Regions from separate parts of the Homo sapiens genome. Here region 2 is linked to region 1. The links are contacts of gene promoters, found by promoter capture Hi-C in human tissues and cell types (Jung and others, 2019). All regions are on one chromosome and are shown on one strand. Each heading gives the region's core, a stretch centred on a gene start or on the middle of the fragment in contact. The rest is flanking DNA. Distances are from core to core; before and after follow the strand shown.

The links. The method cuts DNA at HindIII sites, captures the fragments that hold promoters and counts their contacts. A contact is called where the count stands out against the background at its distance.
Region 2: a fragment that was not itself captured here is called in contact with the fragment with the promoter of SNW1 in region 1 in 1 of the 25 tissues and cell types used here (dorsolateral prefrontal cortex).

The regions. Positions count from the first base shown.
Region 1 is chr14:77,758,616-77,763,667 of GRCh38, forward strand. It overlaps SNW1 (SNW domain containing 1), which reads right to left and starts at 2,541. Exons shown (of 14, transcript NM_012245.3): 1 at 2,499-2,541. The coding sequence starts at 2,512. SLIRP-OT1 (SLIRP overlapping transcript 1) reads left to right here and starts at 2,153. Exons shown (of 2, transcript NR_161324.1): 1 at 2,153-2,501. RefSeq lists enhancers at 1,731-2,505, 2,413-2,732, 3,280-4,054. The HindIII fragment of the contact is 5,855 bases long and covers 1-5,052 here.
Region 2 is chr14:78,584,480-78,589,531 of GRCh38, forward strand. All of the region lies in intron 4 of NRXN3 (neurexin 3), which reads left to right. Among named protein-coding and RNA genes, the nearest start is that of NRXN3-AS2, 120 kb to the right of the region's middle. The HindIII fragment of the contact is 3,510 bases long and covers 774-4,283 here.

The sequences.
Region 1 (5,052 bases), core at 1,291-3,790:
ATTGCATTATGATTTTACTCACTCTGTCCCATTAGAATGTAAGCTAATTAGAATTCTGTCCCACTAGAATTCCAATTCTGTCCCATTAGAGTGTAAGCTCCATGTGGATAGAGTATAAAATTAAAACAAACTCAGTTTCTCCTATTATTTCACTCAACAATCAACAACACACAACACTTCTGATACCAGATGTGTGATGGTTTTTCCCCACATATCAAGCAAGCTATCAACTGTGTCTACTGGACACCAGTCAAGTGTCCTCTAATTCAATTCAATTTTGATGTTATCTACCTGGAGATACTGTCAGATGTTACAGGTTGAAGGCTCAGTCCCACAAGACTGCCCTTACTTCAGATGCCAACAGTAGGTCCAAGGCCACTGGCCAACTAACTACAAACCAGGGTTCCCATGACCTCATCTTCAGGTTCAACTAATTTGCTAGGGCAGCTCACAGAACTCAGGGAAATGTGTTTACTGATTTAAAGGATATTACAAAGAATACTGAGGAACACCAGATGGTAGGTATGGAAAGCTCTGGAGTCCTCAAGACTGGCCATTTAAAGATCGCATTCTGCCACTGCAATTTTAAGCACGCAATACCCATGACAGGCCAGATGATGTGGTGGCTCACGCCAGTAATGCCAGCACTGTGGGAGGCTGAGATGGGTAGATCAGATCAGTTAAGCCCAGTTCAAGACCAGGCTGGGCAACATGGCAAAACCCCATCTCTACTAAAAAAAACAAAAATTAACTGGGCATCATGGCAAGCGTCTAGAGTCCCAGCTACTCTAGGGCGCTGAGGCAGGAGGATCACCTGAGCCTTGGGAGGTTGAGGCTGCAGTGGGCTGTGATTGGGCCACTGCACTCCAGCCTGGGCAAGAGTGAGACCCTATATCAAAAAATAAAATAAATAAAAAATACCCATGACATCTCTAGAAATTTTTCCTGTGTGTCCATTTCAAATTCCACCTTTTCCACAAAGTCTCCCCTCATAACTTTACTAGTCTATGACACAGTGTCTCACACCTGGGGAGCACTCAAATGTTTGCTGCCTGTAACATTTACTAAACAAACTCTTGGCTGGGCATGGTAGCTCATGCCTGCAATCCCAGCACTTTGGGAGGCCTAGGTGAGAAGATTGATGGAGGCCAAGAGTTGGAGACCACTCTGGCCAACGCAGTAACACCCTATTTCTAGTTTTTTTTTAAAAAAATTTCAGATGCCGGGCATGGTGGCTCATGCCTGTAATCCTAGCACTTTCGGAGGCCGAGACAGGAGGACTGCTTGAGGCCAAGAATTCAAGACCAACCTGGCCAACACAGCGAGACCGCATCTCAAAAAATAAAGTTAAAAAAAAAAGCAAAAAAATTTTAGAAACGAGGGTGGGGAGAAAACTCTCCAGCCCACATAACTTATTCCATTCAATTCTTTTTGCACTAAGGTTAGTATTACACAAATGCACATTTTGTGTTCTGTAATTGTTTTATGTCTGTATACCTTGCACCCCTATCTTCCCTGTTGCCAAAGACAGATTTTCTTCTGTGTACACAACCCCCAGGACAGAGCAAGGCACCAACAGTAATTCCCAAAATAATTTTTTGATTAAAACTTTTGGAGTCATACTGTCATCAGCCAGAAAAAAAAACATGCGTGAGGAGAATGAAGGGTGTTAAAAGAGCTCAAGCTGATGTCCTGAAAGGATTACTTTATCTATAACCTTCCTGAACACTAGCCTTTTCCTGTTGAGTTCGCATGGAAAGTTTTTCCACTTAAAATGGGGCAGCAAGGCTGGGAACTAGTAGGAGTAGCGTAACTTCTCGGACTCTCCCACTGAAAAGCATCTTTTTCTTAAAGGCGGAGAGCACTTTACAGACGGTTACTAAGGTAACCGGAAACAGCAAAACTGAGGTGGTTCTATCTACGGAAGAAATTCTAAGCTCCAAAGTTAAAATGCGGAGCAGTGGCGCATATCAGCAGACGGCGGTCACTACTGTGGCTCATTTAAATCTGTGTTCAGCTCCGGGCCTCTTTTTTCAGGAATCCTTGTTTCGGGACACCCAGTGGACAGCGAAAGGAGAGAGACCACCACAGGCAAACGGCCGGAAAGCCGCGCAGTCGCAGCCCGCGCGCTTCACTCCGCCCAAATAAGCCACTACCGTCACCAACCCCATCTCGTTCGCCCGAGCCGCGGACCTGAGGGAGCGCTGTCCGCTCCCCGCAAGATGCTCACGCGAAAAACCCACTCTTCAGTGTCTGAGACCACTCCGCAGCTTTCGGCCTCGGTGAGCGGGTGAACTAAACCCGGGAAACCGCTGAAAGACCCCAGCTTCGACTAGGCCTAGTCGTAGCGGCGGCCAGCGGGAGGGCGTAGCCGTAGTCTTGGCCCACGTCATTCTGTGCCCCGGGTCAGGTCACCGCCCGGAGGGTATGGGAAGAGAAATGAAGAAGACTGGTACTCCCAGACCCTTCCGTATCGAGGACCCCAATCAACAACCCACCTGGTGAGCGCCATCTTCTTCCGCTTCTTCCAGCGCGAGCGACAGCACCGCTGGGCGGGTCTTTCCAGATGATGAGGAGCGGAAAGGAAGGAGTGCGCGATGCGCAGGCGCTCTGGCCGAAAAGGCCTTCTGGGATTTGTAGTTCTTTGAACAGGAGTACCGTTTGTATTCTGACCAGACCAAGCGGTTATCAAGGAATAATCTCTTCAGCTAGCAACAAATGCATAACTCGATCGCTTATATGCGACATGATAGGGCGTTCCCTAGGCAAAATATCAAAGATACAGGGAGATGCCTTTTAGGCCGCTTTATTACGTTCCTTACTCAGTCCCGTTCCCCGAGAAGGGGTACAAAATACAAAAGCTTCCCGGGGACAGCTACTTTAAGTAAGAGTGATAGGGCGTTTAAAACGACAGGTAATAATGAGACTAGCTAATGGAGAGTCCTTGGACTCTCTGAAAACATTCACACTCAAAACTTTTCTTTAAACCATATCCTCTCACCCGCCAAAACACTCTCTTGGGGAGATATTTCGTAATCCTTGGTAATTTACCGAGTGTCTGGGTTCTCTGCCCAGGGTATGACAAGGCTGAAATCTCATAGGAGGCTCTGGAGAAAAATCCATCTCCTAACTCATTCTTGTTGGCAAAAATCAGTTCCTGGCGGTTGTGGGATCGAGTTCCCTGTTTTGTTTTGTGCTGTTAGTGGTGGCCACCCTCAGCTCCTAGGGGTCACTCTCGAGTCCTTCCCACATGAGCCCTATTTATTGGTAGTTCACAACATGGATATTTGCTTTCTGAGGCACATCTTTCTGACTCCTCTTCTGCCACTGTTGGAGAAAAATGCCCTGCTTTTAAAGGGCTCATGTGATTAGATCAGGAGCACCTGGATAATCTCCCTATTTTAAGATCAACTCTTGGCCGGGCGCAGTAGCTCACACTTGTAATCCTAGCACTTTGGGAGGTCGGGGCGGGCGGATTGCCTGAGCTCAGGAGTTCGACAAAGCCTGGGCAACATGGTGAAACCCTGTCTCTACTAAAAATACAAAAATTAGCTGGGCGTTGTGGCGCGCTCCTGTAGTCCTAGCTACTGGGGAGGCTGAGGCAGGAGAATCGTGTGAATCAGGAGACGGAGGTTGCAGTGAGCCAAGATCACGCCACTGCACTCCAGCCTGGCGACAGAGTGAGACTGCGTCTCAAAAAATAAAAATAAATAAATAAATAAATAAATAAATAATATAAAAGAATAGCTGGGTGTGGTGATGTGCTCTTGTTTTCTCAGCTACTTGGGAGGCTGAGGTACAAGAATCGCTTGAACCCAGGAGGTGGAGGTTGCAGTGAGCCGAGATTGCACCATTGCACTCCAGCGTGGGTGACAAAGTAAAATTCTGTCTCAAAAAAAAAAAAAAAATCAACTCTGCCACACCGCATAACAGAATCAGAATCTTCATAGTCATGGCCCCAGGGGTTATGTAGGTCAGGTACTGTGGGGGTTGGGTGAGGAGGAGATCTTGGGGGATATCCTAGAATTCTGCCTGCCACAGCATGTAAACCAAAAAAACAAAAAGAAAAAATCTTTTGGTAAATACAGGATTGTTAATCACATTGTGTAATATAACCTGCATGGCCTGGGAGCCCGAAGATTAGAGTTTAAGATGTAGCTTTGGCTGGGTGTGGTGGCTTGTGCCTTTAATCCCAGCACTTTGGGAGGCTGAGGCGGGCAGATCACCTGAGGTCGGGAGTTTGAGACCAGCCTGACCAACATGGAGAAACTGCGTCTCTACTGAAAATACAAAATTAGCCGGGCGTGGTGGTGCTTGCCTGTAATCCCAGCTACTCGGGAGGCCGAGGCAGGAGAATCGCTTGAACTCGGGAGGCGGAAGTTGTGGTGAGCCGAGATCGTGCGTCGTTGCACTCTAGCCTGAGCAACAAGAGTGAAACTGTCTCAGAAAAAAAAAAAAAAAAAAAAAAGATGTAGCTTCAGCACCAATAAATTCTTATAGGGCAAGTCATTTAATTTATTTGGGCCCCAGTTTTATTGAACTTAAAATGCTGATCATGTTATCTGCTTTACCTATATTTATATAAATGTAAAATAATTATATACAATACAGCAGAGTATGAGCCTTAAATGAGGTAATGTAGGTGGATATGTTTTTACTTAACTCTTAAGTACTATGTAAATATGTTAGTTATTACAGTTAATATTTTGGTTGACAGTGATCTACTTCAACCTCTGCTCCAGGAATGTATTATTTCTAAAAGGAGAAAAACAGAGAAGCAAATTATAGAACGTCCTGGAAGCCAAGATCAAGGAGCTTAGATTTAGTTCAGCAGGTGATTTGCAGCTGAAGGAGGACTTAAGTAGAGGGCCTGGGTCAAAGGAACAGGCAAGAAAGACAATTCTTAAGGCAGAATGGGTTTCTATGGCAATGAGAGACAAAGGAGGCTACTGAGGACAAGGTTAAAATAATTAACATGGGAAATCAGTAAGACATAGACCAAGACCTGGGATGCAGGATTGAAAGAACAGGGTGGAGAAGAGCTTTTGCAAT
Region 2 (5,052 bases), core at 1,279-3,778, 830 kb after region 1:
ACATCATTGTCCTACAGGAAGGATTTGGTCATCAAACACACACCATCCCTAGTTCTTTCCCAAACAGCTCTCCTCCAGCTCTGTCATGTCTCCACCAGGATCAAATGGCATGGTCTCTCATTCTTTGTGATGTAGACAGACACTGGTGAGATAAATTGATAAGCACTGCTTTGGGAGTCATCTGTTGAAATACAAAAATAACTTTGTAACATAACCTCCTTCTCCTTAGAAACAATTATTGGAGGAATTTATGAATTTTACATCTTGTGTGAGAGGCTGACAGAACCTCCAATCAGAAAGGCCGTGTTCTAGCGTCAAATCATCCATCATTTGTGTAACTTTCAGCAAGTCACTCTACCTCTGTACCTCTGCATTTTCAATTTGCAAGAGTGGTTGCAGAGTTAAACTAGATGATGGTATTATATACTTGTTTTTGGTTTGTCTATTTCTTTATTTTAAAGAATGTTCAATATCTACTCCATAACAGGCATAGCATTAGCTTCAGGATTTCCAGCAGTGAGCCAAACATACAGAGCCCTAGTTCTCATGGGGTTGATTTCCTATTTGAGGAAAAGAGACAAAAAGGAAATATACAAATACATACATTATTAGGTGGTGATAAATGCTATGGAGAAAAATAAGAAGAAATAGGGGAGATAAGGGGGGGGGGTGATTAATTTATGTAGACATTCAGGAAAGGCCTCAATGTTGAAGTAGTATTCAAGCTCATACCTGAGAAAATTAGAGCCTGAGCCAAAAGGCTATCAGGGCAGATGGTCACAGGCAGCCAGTGCAAAGGACCTGAGGTGGGAATGTGCTTGGTGAGTTGGAGGCACAGGAAGGGGCCTGTGTGGCTAGTACAGAGGGAGGAAGGCTGAGAGTAGAGATGATATCTGAGCTTCCAAGGGGCCAGAGAATGGAAGGTTTGGGAGTGAGACGGAGCCATGGACAAATTGAAGCAGAGTGAATATGCTCTGATTTATACTGTTAAAAGTTGATCACTCCTGCGGAGTGTGGATAGAAATTTAGGGACAAGGGAGGGTGGAGGGAGACTAGTTAGGAGACTATTGTCATAATCCAGGTGGCTTGGCCATGAAGTTAGTGGCGGAAGAGGTCTCATTCTGGGCATATCTTGAAGCTATGCTTGATGGGGTTGTTGGTAATTGGGTCTGGGGTATGAGAGGAAGGGAGGGGCCAGGGTGACACCAAGCATGTGATTAAGGCCTGAGCACCTGGACTGATGAGCTGTTGTTTGCTAAGATGGGTAAGGCTGAGAGAGATGCAGTTTTAGGGGAAGGGTTGGATATTAGGGGTTCAGCTTTGGACTTGCATTTCCGTGTCTAGGAGACACTCTAGTAGAGATATGAAATTGGTGATGGTATGAGTAAGGTTGGAGTTTAGACAAAAATCTAGGCTAGAATTATGGATTTGAGAATCATTAGCATACACATGCTATTTAGAGGCTTGAGACTGGATGGAAGCGTAGATAAATTGAGTGTAGCTAGTGGGGGCCAAAGCATTGATTCTCTTCCCAAATGCTAGGGAGCCCTATTACTTGGAGCAGGAATTGTCAGACAGTGACCAGATTTTCATGTCTTTTTGTAAATAAAGTTTAATTGGAACCATTCATCTGCATTTCTTTATCTATTGTCTGTGGCTGTTGTTGAGCTACAACAGGAGAGCTGAGTAGTTGTGACAAAGACTCATGGCCTGCCAAAGGCCAACAAAATCTACCATCTGGCTGTTTAGAGACAGGGTTTTTGTTTTTGTTTTTGTTTTTTTTGACCCTTGATTTAGAGATCAAGGAGATAAGAGGCATCCAGCAAAGGAAGCTGAGAAGGAATAGCCAGAGAGGAAAGAAGAGTGCCAAGAGTTCTGCATTGAAGGAAAGATGGTGCCAGGGTTTGAACACACAGCATTAGAATACGTGAGGCTGGGCAAGTTACTTCCCCATAAGGACGGTAGTAGCACAGGATTGGCATAAAAATTAAAGTAGATGATGCATGCAAAACACTTACAGCTGTGCCTGGTATCCAGTAAGTATTCAGTAAATGCTCTTACAGCATCTACTTCTATTTGCTTAGTCTGTAGTCCTCAGCCAAGGCTCTGTACTGGAGACAAATCAGGATGTTTGAGGATTAGCCCCACCGCCTGATCAGGTAAGCCTATGATCTATGCTCAGGGACCTGAGGAAGAAGGAGGAAGGTGAGCCATGTCCCCCGACCCTGACCGTGTACACCCTGTCCCCCAAGAGGACCTTGAAGAAGAGCCCTTCAGCATCTGCTTTTTACTTCCTATCTTTGACAAACAGTCTTTATGGAAAGCTTTTGAGCAAACGGCAAATCCATCTTTATGAGATTACTAATGTCAACACATTTTGTGTATCAGGATTTTATAGGCTCCTGCGGGCCTGTGCCTGTGACAACATTGGCTGGCAGTGCTCGCCTGAGGAATTATGCAACATGCCCCTGATGCTGGAGAAGGATCTTGATATCCCACTGAGGCCCGGGACATTTTCTCCCAGAAACAGTCTTGAATGAGAAGCTTGAAGAGGGGAGTTAGATTTACTGGGGCTTCTCTAAAGATTCTGTGTCCAAAGCTTGAATAGGGAAAGAAATACTTTGCATCCATGTAGCAGGTTCTGCATTCAGCATACCAGGTTTGCTCCTAGTTAAAGAGTCATGGAGCCCATGGGAGTGTTTGTTCTTTGGGAATGTCATAAAAGAGAATTTGGCCTCTCCCACTTACATGTTCTTGCATTTCTTATTGGTCCTTCTCTTGCAATTATTGCTACTTTCCCTGGTCAACCTCTAGAGCAGTGGCTTTCCAAGTGCCTTCTGTGGACAGGTAGTATCAGCATCATCTAGAAACTTAGAGACGCAAATCCTCGGTGCACCCCCAACCCATGGAATCAACCGTTTTTAATGTGTGACCTTTGGCAGATTAGTTACCCCTCTGAAATCTAGTCTTACCCTATGAAATATGGGAACGTTAATAGCACAGGATTATTGTAAATATTAAATGAGATGATTTTAATGAGTCTTCCAGGCGATTCTGATTATGCTACAGTTCCACTCCTAAAGATTCTTCTAAAAGATTCCCATTTTTGGACAATTAGAAGTTCCTGCTAAGAGAAATTTTCAGATTTTATCCCTCTACACATTCGCAACTATTTTTAATCTGAGCTAATCTGCCAATCATCTTTCCAAAATGAATTAATACTCTCCCATTTTCTTAAAAATTTTGTAGGATATCAACCATTTTAAACTTTTTCTTAAAGACTCAGGGCATCATCATGAATATAATTATTGTTATATTAGATGTTGGGCCTTTGTCATATTTCTATATTTTGTGTTGTTTACCAGTTTTTTTCAGCTTCTTTAAAAATAGAATCTTTAGTTTGCTACCTTCTTCTTCATTGTCTGGATATCAGCTATTTTTTTAATAGCTATATCCAGTATTATCCCCATCACTTTCTAATTTTTTACTTTTAACTTGATTTTGCACAAGGACTGAAATAACCAAGATGATTAATAATGTACTCAAAGCAAGAATAAATCATTAAACATAATAGTAAATAAATGAGAAGAATTTATTGAGAGGAAATAAATGAGAGGGATTTTTTTTGAAAGTATAAGCTTCTGTACCTGAGTTTTGCATCATAAAGTCTGGATTCTTGGGTACCTTACTATTTACTTCTGATCATGTCATAGTTGTCTTGAATAACTGAATAGCTGATGTTTTGAATAAATGAAAAGTTTTTGTAGCATACTCACCACTCAATCATTCTCCTGAATGTTCCACCCTCATCATGTTATACCTTTCTATCCTTTGCATATATTGTTGACATATACATTTTCCTAGGTGATACAGTTTGTAACTGATATCATCCAATCACAAGTAAATTACTGCTCTGTGGAATAAAAGGTAATAACTAAATGGGACATGTCTCCTCTTTCACTCCCTTTTTGCTGTTGTTCCACTTCTCCTGGGCTCCTGATGAAGTCTAGGGGAGAGTATACAGGGCTGAGATGTGAACAACCCTAGGATCTAGGCTTGGCTCTGCCACTAAGTGACTATGTAGAACTAGGCAAATCTCTTGGCCTCTCTGGGCCATGAGATGCAACACTATAAATCAGTACGATAATACTCGCTTCTCCTTCCTTATAGCAGTAGAGCAAGAATCCAAATAAATAGTACAAGTGAGAACTCAACACAATCTACATCTGTGAAGCATCATTCTTAAGGTATATCCAGGGCATTTGGCTCCACGTAGACCTAGAGGTTGCTTTCTCAGTCCCTTGTCCGCCCCATATCCAGCTGCCTTGGCTCACAGAGTTTGAGACTGTGCTGTATTTTCTGTCATGCTTCAGAGTGTATCAAATCAACACAAATATAAAATAAAGCCATAAAGAGAAGGCTGATATTCACCATAGAAAATGTTGGAGGGAAAGACAAAAACACTCAACGACAACTTCACAAACAACCCTTATTATGGCTGTGGAAGACACAATAGTATGTGTAATGTGGTGTTTGGGCTGTATTTGCTGCTTGGGAATCTGGTGCATTCTGAGATGGAGGGAATGCCAAGTGTTTAGACAACATGCTGCTTGGCGCCTGCAGGTTCCTGGAAAGGACTGGGGTCTCCAGATCTAGGCTGCCAGCCAGGAGTCTCAGGCAGAGACATGCATTCTACCGTTTAAGGCCTTTCTAGACTTCAGCAGTGAGCAGATACAGGAGCCCTCAAGAAGCTCTGCAAAAGCCTACCACCACTGAGATCCAGGACATAATATGCATTCCTAAGCAGGCTGCTGCCTTTGGCTGAGTCTATCTGGGGGCCTTCTCTCTGCAGGAGAGGATGCTAACAGCTACTGTTCCTGAAGGACTCATAAGAAGACTTCTGTGCACTTCCAGCCTCCCACATGAAGCTTCTGGAAGGGCTAACCCGGTTCATTTCATCTACTTGCTGCCTATGCCAATCCTATCCCCTCTTCAAAGCCCAGTTTAAGTCTGACCTTCCCCATGAAATCACCAAAGCCTTTAGTCTTCATG